2 separate regions of the Homo sapiens genome follow, and region 1 is linked to region 2. Evidence: promoter capture Hi-C in 16 types of primary human blood cells and fetal thymus (Javierre and others, 2016). All regions are on one chromosome and are shown on one strand. Each heading gives the region's core, a stretch centred on a gene start or on the middle of the fragment in contact. The rest is flanking DNA. Distances are from core to core; before and after follow the strand shown. Region 1 has its middle 14 kb from the start of LANCL1. Region 2 holds the start of KANSL1L-AS1 (KANSL1L antisense RNA 1).

Evidence for each region. The method cuts DNA at HindIII sites, captures the fragments that hold promoters and counts their contacts. A CHiCAGO score of 5 or more calls a contact.
Region 1: a fragment that was not itself captured here is called in contact with the fragment with the promoter of KANSL1L-AS1 in region 2 in 1 of 17 cell types (non-activated CD4 T cells); the score reaches 5.6 in non-activated CD4 T cells.

Annotation. Positions count from the first base shown.
Region 1 is chr2:210,488,833-210,492,272 of GRCh38, forward strand. It overlaps a transcript of CPS1 not described here. Among named protein-coding and RNA genes, the nearest start is that of LANCL1, 14 kb to the left of the region's middle. The HindIII fragment of the contact is 2,816 bases long and covers 296-3,111 here.
Region 2 is chr2:210,028,672-210,031,839 of GRCh38, forward strand. It overlaps KANSL1L-AS1 (KANSL1L antisense RNA 1), which reads left to right and starts at 1,251. Exons shown (of 5, transcript NR_110291.1): 1 at 1,251-1,327; 2 at 2,796-2,836. It overlaps KANSL1L (KAT8 regulatory NSL complex subunit 1 like), which reads right to left. Exons shown (of 15, transcript NM_152519.4): 9 at 2,750-2,875; 10 at 1,132-1,247; 11 at 174-298. The HindIII fragment of the contact is 1,781 bases long and covers 537-2,317 here.

The sequences.
Region 1 (3,440 bases), core at 454-2,953, 460 kb after region 2:
AGCCAGAAAAATGCTAAAGAGGTTAATTTTTTATATTATAAAGTAAAAAAAAAATCCTAAGTAAGTTTACTGAGATTTTTCTAGCAAAACTAGAAGTCTTAGTGGGCTTCAGATTCATACTCATGAATATTCTTTTAATTCTTACTTTTATACAAATCTTGGAAATTAGAGGTACAATAGATTATTAAGAATTATGAAAATTTATTCATTGGAGAGCTTAGCAAGAAAATTGCTTATGTTAACATTTGAAAAACTATTTGGTCTACCTGCACTGCAAACTTATAGATGATGGGAAAGCTTATCTTTAAGGCCTGGATCAGTGCAAACAGCCCTGAAAAAGGAAATCTCGAGTTTAATTTACCTTTCAGAACTAAAGAATATATATTGCAGAATTTAAAGAGAAAAGGATCTTCTCTCCTATCTCCTAATGGATACTCTTTGTACCTAGGGTCAGTCTGACTTGGTGGGTGCGGTATTTAACTGCTGCTGACCTTGCTTTGAATTTCTGGCTACAGAGCATTTCAGAGGACAGAGCAAATCTTCTGTTGGGTGTCACATAGGTAGATGCATGCTGGTGCTGGTTCATTCACTGGCACATCCCAGGAATGAATATTTTCTTCCTTGCACATTGACCTTACTCTGATAGACTGACCCAGAAACAGAGCTGGTCTAGTTTTATATGTAAGTAGGAAGGAAAGTTTTCTTCCCTGGCACATACACCTGCTAGCACTCTGACACTTCTAATTTGGAGGTCACAGGAGCAAGTAAATAAATACTATTTAAGGAGCATTAAAAGAAGAAAATTTGGTTTAAACCAAAAAAATCATAAAGTGGGGAGGCAGAGCTACAAACAAGCTGTGGGACTTCAATCATACTTGCTTTCTTCCATACTATTATAAGAATAAAATAAAAAAGGAAGGAAGGGAGAGGCCGAGGCAGGCAGATCACGAGGTCAGGAGATCGAGACCATCCTGGCTAACATGGTGAAACCCCGTCTCTACTGAAAATACAAAAAATTAGCCGGGCGTGGTGGCGGACGCCTGTAGTCCCAGCTACTTGGGAGGCTGAGGCAGGAGAATGGCGTGAACCCGGGAGGCGGAGCTTGCAGTGAGCCGAGATCCTGCCACTGCACTCCAGCCTGGGTGACAGAGCGAGACTCTGTCTCAAAAAAAAAAAAAAAAAAGGAAGGAAGGAAAGCAGGCAGGCAGGAAGAAAGGAAGAAAGGATGGAAGGAAGAAGGAAGGAAGGATGAAGAAAGAAATAAACATATTTCACTTTATACACAGCCTTGCTTCAGTTGGAGAGTGATTCAACTACTCTCAGCTTTCTCTGTAACCACTCAGGAATACCATTTAGAAAAACGTTCTTGTAGAGCTAGAGCCTATTGCTAATAGTAATATTCTGGAAAATTATGGGGAGATATATATGCTTATAGGCTTACCTCTGACCTACAAATTGTCTCTAATAGAGACTGTAATTGTGCACAATCCCTTTTTTCCTCTTCTGCATAGCCATGGGAAGATTTTCTATGTAGGCTTATGTGACCTTCCTAGGTTGTCTGAAATAATCTTGCATCTAGTACATGAATATTACTTAATAAATCCATAAGTATGTACCAAGTGATTTGGCTGCAGAATCAAAATTTTTAAAATGATCCATATTAACTACATCTGAATTTATCCTTGAGCTCCTCTTCTCGTTGTAAAGTGCATTGCACCTATAAAGAGAGGAGTGCAGAATACTTGTAGAAGTTTGTGGGGGGACAGTGAAGGACATTTATTGGTCTAGTTAATGGTAATAGGATATATCCAAAGTGGAAATAAAAGAGAGGCTGTCTTAATTCAATGGTGAGCCAGGGCTATAAGTAACAAAAGGTGGATTTCTTGGGAAATGAATCAATTCATTTTTTGTACCATCAAACTGGGATCTAAAATATGAACCCCATGATACACATGTACACAATGAAACTGTTGGTCTGTTATTGTAATTCTTGAAAATCTCAGTTTATAGTTTTTGTGTGTAAGATAATATTATCCACAGAATCCTAGGTTGGGAGTCTAGTTCTGTTTCTGCTTCAGAAGACTCTTGTCTCAGAGAAGACCCTTGAAACTCTGTGGTCCCTAGGATCCCTCATCTGTAAGATATAGAATGTTCTAGGGGCAAAGTTGGAAAATCCCCTTGAGGACTATGATGTTCCAGACTAGGACACTTTATAATGCTTCCAGGATGCTAATTTCTGGAGGCAATTAGTAGGTTTGTAAACAAATTCTTTTGAAGTGAAGGTTTGAATTGTGTATTGGCAGGAATTATTTGGATAATTGACTTGAATGAGTTTAATTGGCTATAAGAGTTTCATTTTTGTTTTGTTTCTTAGGATGATGTAATTACTGCCTGTGTTGAGTTCCTGCAGGAATGATTTAACTGTTGGATATTTTGAAATGTTCTGGTTGTAAAAGCATGTATTTGGTATCTGTGTTTTTTTTTTTTTTTTTTTTTTTTTTTTTTTGAGACGGAGTCTTGTTCTGTTGCCAGGCTGGAATGGTGCGATCTTGGCTCACTGCAACCTCCACCTCCCGGTTCAAGTGATTCTCCTGTCTCAGCCTCCCAAGTAGCTGGGACTACAGGCACGTGCCACCATGCCCAGCTAATTTTTTGTATTTTTAGTAGAGATGGGGTTTCACTATGTTAGCCAGGATGGTCTCTATCTCCTGACCTCGCGATCCGCCTGCCTTGGACTCCCAAAGTGCTGGGATTAGAGGCATGAGCCACCGCACCTGGACATGTTTGTTTTTTTCCTGGTGTTCTGAGTGTCCTGTGGCAATGGGAAGTTACCATCTCACCTCCACTGTTAAGGCACCAAGTTTCTACCTCTTGGCCCCTAAGAAATGTGGGATCACCTTGAACAGATCTGTCAGCCCTGGTGAGTTTCAGATACCTGTCTCCTAAGAGGAATCTTCTGCTAGGTTAGGGGAGGGGGTCCTATAACAGCTGGAACATAGGCCTTCCCTTCATTCTGTTAACCTGAGGAATAGTCATATCATTCTGCTCTCTCAGTTCTTGTTTCTTAACTTAGCAGGGAATTCAGTGGAGATTTAAGGGTGGTAGCAATAAAGCTTGTGAGAGTGCTTATGAGCCACTGACAGCAACCAACACTATTGTAAGGGAGTTGCTAGATAACCAGGAACCTGGTGGCTGGGCAGAAGCCGACAAAGTTGACTGCTATGAATTTAGATTGTGGCCTACCAATATATGAATAGACAAGAGTTAGACTTCACTATCCCTCCAGAATTCTTTTTCTGTGCAATACCATGTTATCATTATATAACATTCATCATTTGGAAATCTCAAAATAAGTTATAAGATATAGCAGCATTTGCTGGCTGGAAAACCTTTAGACATAGTTACATAGCTTAATGACCCAAAACTTTCTGCTTTATGTA
Region 2 (3,168 bases), core at 1-2,500:
GATACTATATAACACTTAAGGCACGAGTAATTTTTTTTTCACCGTTTCCCCTCCATGGCTATGAAGGAACTGGGAGAAGGATGCTCCTTTCATTAATTAAAATTCTTCACTTTGAAAATTTAAGTTTATTAGGGAAGGAAGGAAGAAAAATATGAAGATGTAAGTATACATACCTTGGAGTAAGTATTTCCTTATATTGGAGTTTCTCTAATTTAGCTGGGGCTACTAATGACATGGGAATCACAATGTTATCTATGTCATAAGAGCTCTCACTTCTCAATCTCCGTCGTGCAGTATTCTGCAAAACAGGATTACAGTAGATTTACAGTACTGTCTAGTTACTTGTAATGATACCCTCCTTTCATCAGTTATGTAAATATGGCAGTACACGTTACATAATTTTTGTAAATACATTGTTATAAAGTCTGACTAAAAAATGTTAAGAAAACCAAAAAATAAAACATTTTTCTATCTTTTGTAAATCAGAACAATCTCTTGGTAGATGTGTAATGTGTATTTATGTGTGCAAGCATACAAGCTTATTTTTAAGACCACAAAAAATAGGTCTTAAATGCAAAACTCTTTATCAGAAAAGACCAACATACATCACCCTAAATGTCAATGAAAATGATCAGTAACCACTTTTTATTAGGAAAGGCAGTGAAACATTTTTGGTCAGCCCTTCAGTATACTCTTCATTTATGCATTCCTGGTTCCTGAGTTTCGGAATTCATTTCTAAACCCTCCCACCTTTTGACCTCTCTATTCCCTGGCCAGATAACAAAAAAACAAACAAACAAACAAAAAACAGGACAAGAACAAGAAAGTCCTGAATTCTCATTAGTAAGACTTTATTTAGCTTAATATGTTAAGGAATAGAGATGATCATGATAATGTTTAAATTTTTAACACATAAAAAGAAGCTATAACCAAATATTAATGAACTTTTAGCTTCATAGTTAAAAATAAGTTGTATGAATCAAATATATTGTTTTCTAACAAGATAGTTATAAATGTCTGTTAATATGTGCTAGTAAGGCTGTTATAGATTAGCAAAATATAAATTATTTTCAAAATCAGGTGTTTTTATTTTTAAAGCTATTTTAGAGTTCAACATATGGAAAAACCTACTCGTGATGAATTCTGGATTCTTGATAAAACGTTGACATTGGAAACAGCAGTAAAATTGCTATGGGATCCTGATTCTGTGTGTTGAAAATCAGATTCTTCAAGTTTAGTTCTTTCTCCTGCCATGGAAAGAACCATTGAATGTTACACATTAAACAAGTCTAATATCATTAGAATTACTTTCCTAATTAGATGACAGGTGATTGATTCCTTGTTTTGTGTGTGTGTGTTTAAATTCGTGTATTAGAAAACAAAAAAGGAAATGAAAAAAGAGGAGCCTTACTTGCAGTCATGCCACAAGTTATTTCCATTTTCTGGGGCTTTGGCAGTTTTTATCGAATATATTTCTTATTGTTCCCTGAATAATCCCTCATCTCATCCCTTTATTCTTGTTTCCTGTGACTCCTATTCATAGTTGAACCACCAGAACTATCTTAATTTTCTTATCTAATCTCATTTTTCATATCTGACTTTTTATCCTAATTTATGTGAGGTATCTGTCCTTGGTCTTCTGAACACTCTTAATTTTTTGAAAAAATTCTGCTATTATAAGTACATGTTTCCGAAAGTACTTGTTCTCTGGTACTCTTTTTTTAAAACAGCATCCTGTTCTTGTTTCATAGATGAAATTTCTCATATCTCTCAGGATATTGATTAGAAGTTTACTTCTGTTAGTATTTTCTGTATATCTTCCAAGTTCTTTTTTTTTTTTTTTCCTGTTTTGGTTCCCAGTTACTGTGTGTGTGTGTGTGTGTAGTAAATATATATATGTATGCGTTTACTTACTGCCCTTATTTTAGTACAAGTGTTTTAAAATGAGAATATTTCCTGCATAATATAAAATCTAATACCCAGTCCATATTTAAATATCTCCATTTGTTAAAAAAAAGTCCTTTATAGCTAGTTTCTTCAGATAAGGATCTATATATAAAAATTGGCCATTGTCTCCTAGGTTTCTTATAGTCTAGAATAAATCATTTTTCATTACATTGACTTTTGACAGGCTGGACCAGATGTCCTACCCTTTTGGAATTGTCTAGTTATTTATTTGTAGTATGACATTTCTTTATTTTATTCCTGTATGTACATCAAACTTGAAGTTAGATCTAAAGTGTCAGTCAATTTAAGTGAAACATTTTATATCTTAGGTAATGTATACTTCATGTTGCATCTTATTAGATGTTTTTAAAGCTTTATATATATATATAAGTTGAATCTTGTTGACTTTCTCAAAATCCTGAGGAATCTGCAGTGCATCAACATCTCCACAGTAGGTACCATAAATGGTTAACAGTTTCTGTAAGGCAACTTTGCACTAGCCTATTTTGAGCATAGAACACAACTTTGAAGATTAAATCCCATCCAGGGACTGATTGGTAGAAGACAACTAGTCAGGGAACATAGGAGGGAAATACTTAATTGCCATAAAGTGGGTAGATACCAGTCCACAAATAATTCTAAATTAACTACGAATATGCTGTTTCATGTTTGTAGACTCATAGATGTTTTGTGTTATTAGTGGCTGTTCTGGATTATAAACTCCCATGAGAGGTTATTTTAAAATCAGAATTTTTAATTTTTAATATTTATCACTACTGCTTATATCCTCACTTTAACCTACCTAATGCTGTTTCACTCAAATGTCTTTTCTTTCTTCCCTGTAACAGTTGTGCAGAAGATTCTGACCTTATTTGAGGCTTACATATAGGTGAATATCCATTTCTCCATTGATTCAGAGTACTATGTACTAAAACAAATGAAAAGGAAATATTAAGTTTTAGTTCCTTAACACAGACAGTGAACATGTCAATCTGTTTTTATTTGTAACTGCAGAATTTTAAGATACCAGTTCAAAATTACAGATAAACATAAATACCAAGACACACAACTCCAACTAAAAACATCCCCAGGAATTTCCAGTTTCTTATATTTTCTCCATTTTTTTGAGGGGGATGAAAAGGGAAGATGATCTGTTCTCAAAGTCTTCCAAATTACAGAAACTTGATAGAGTGAGGATTGGCTCAGATATATAAATCTTGG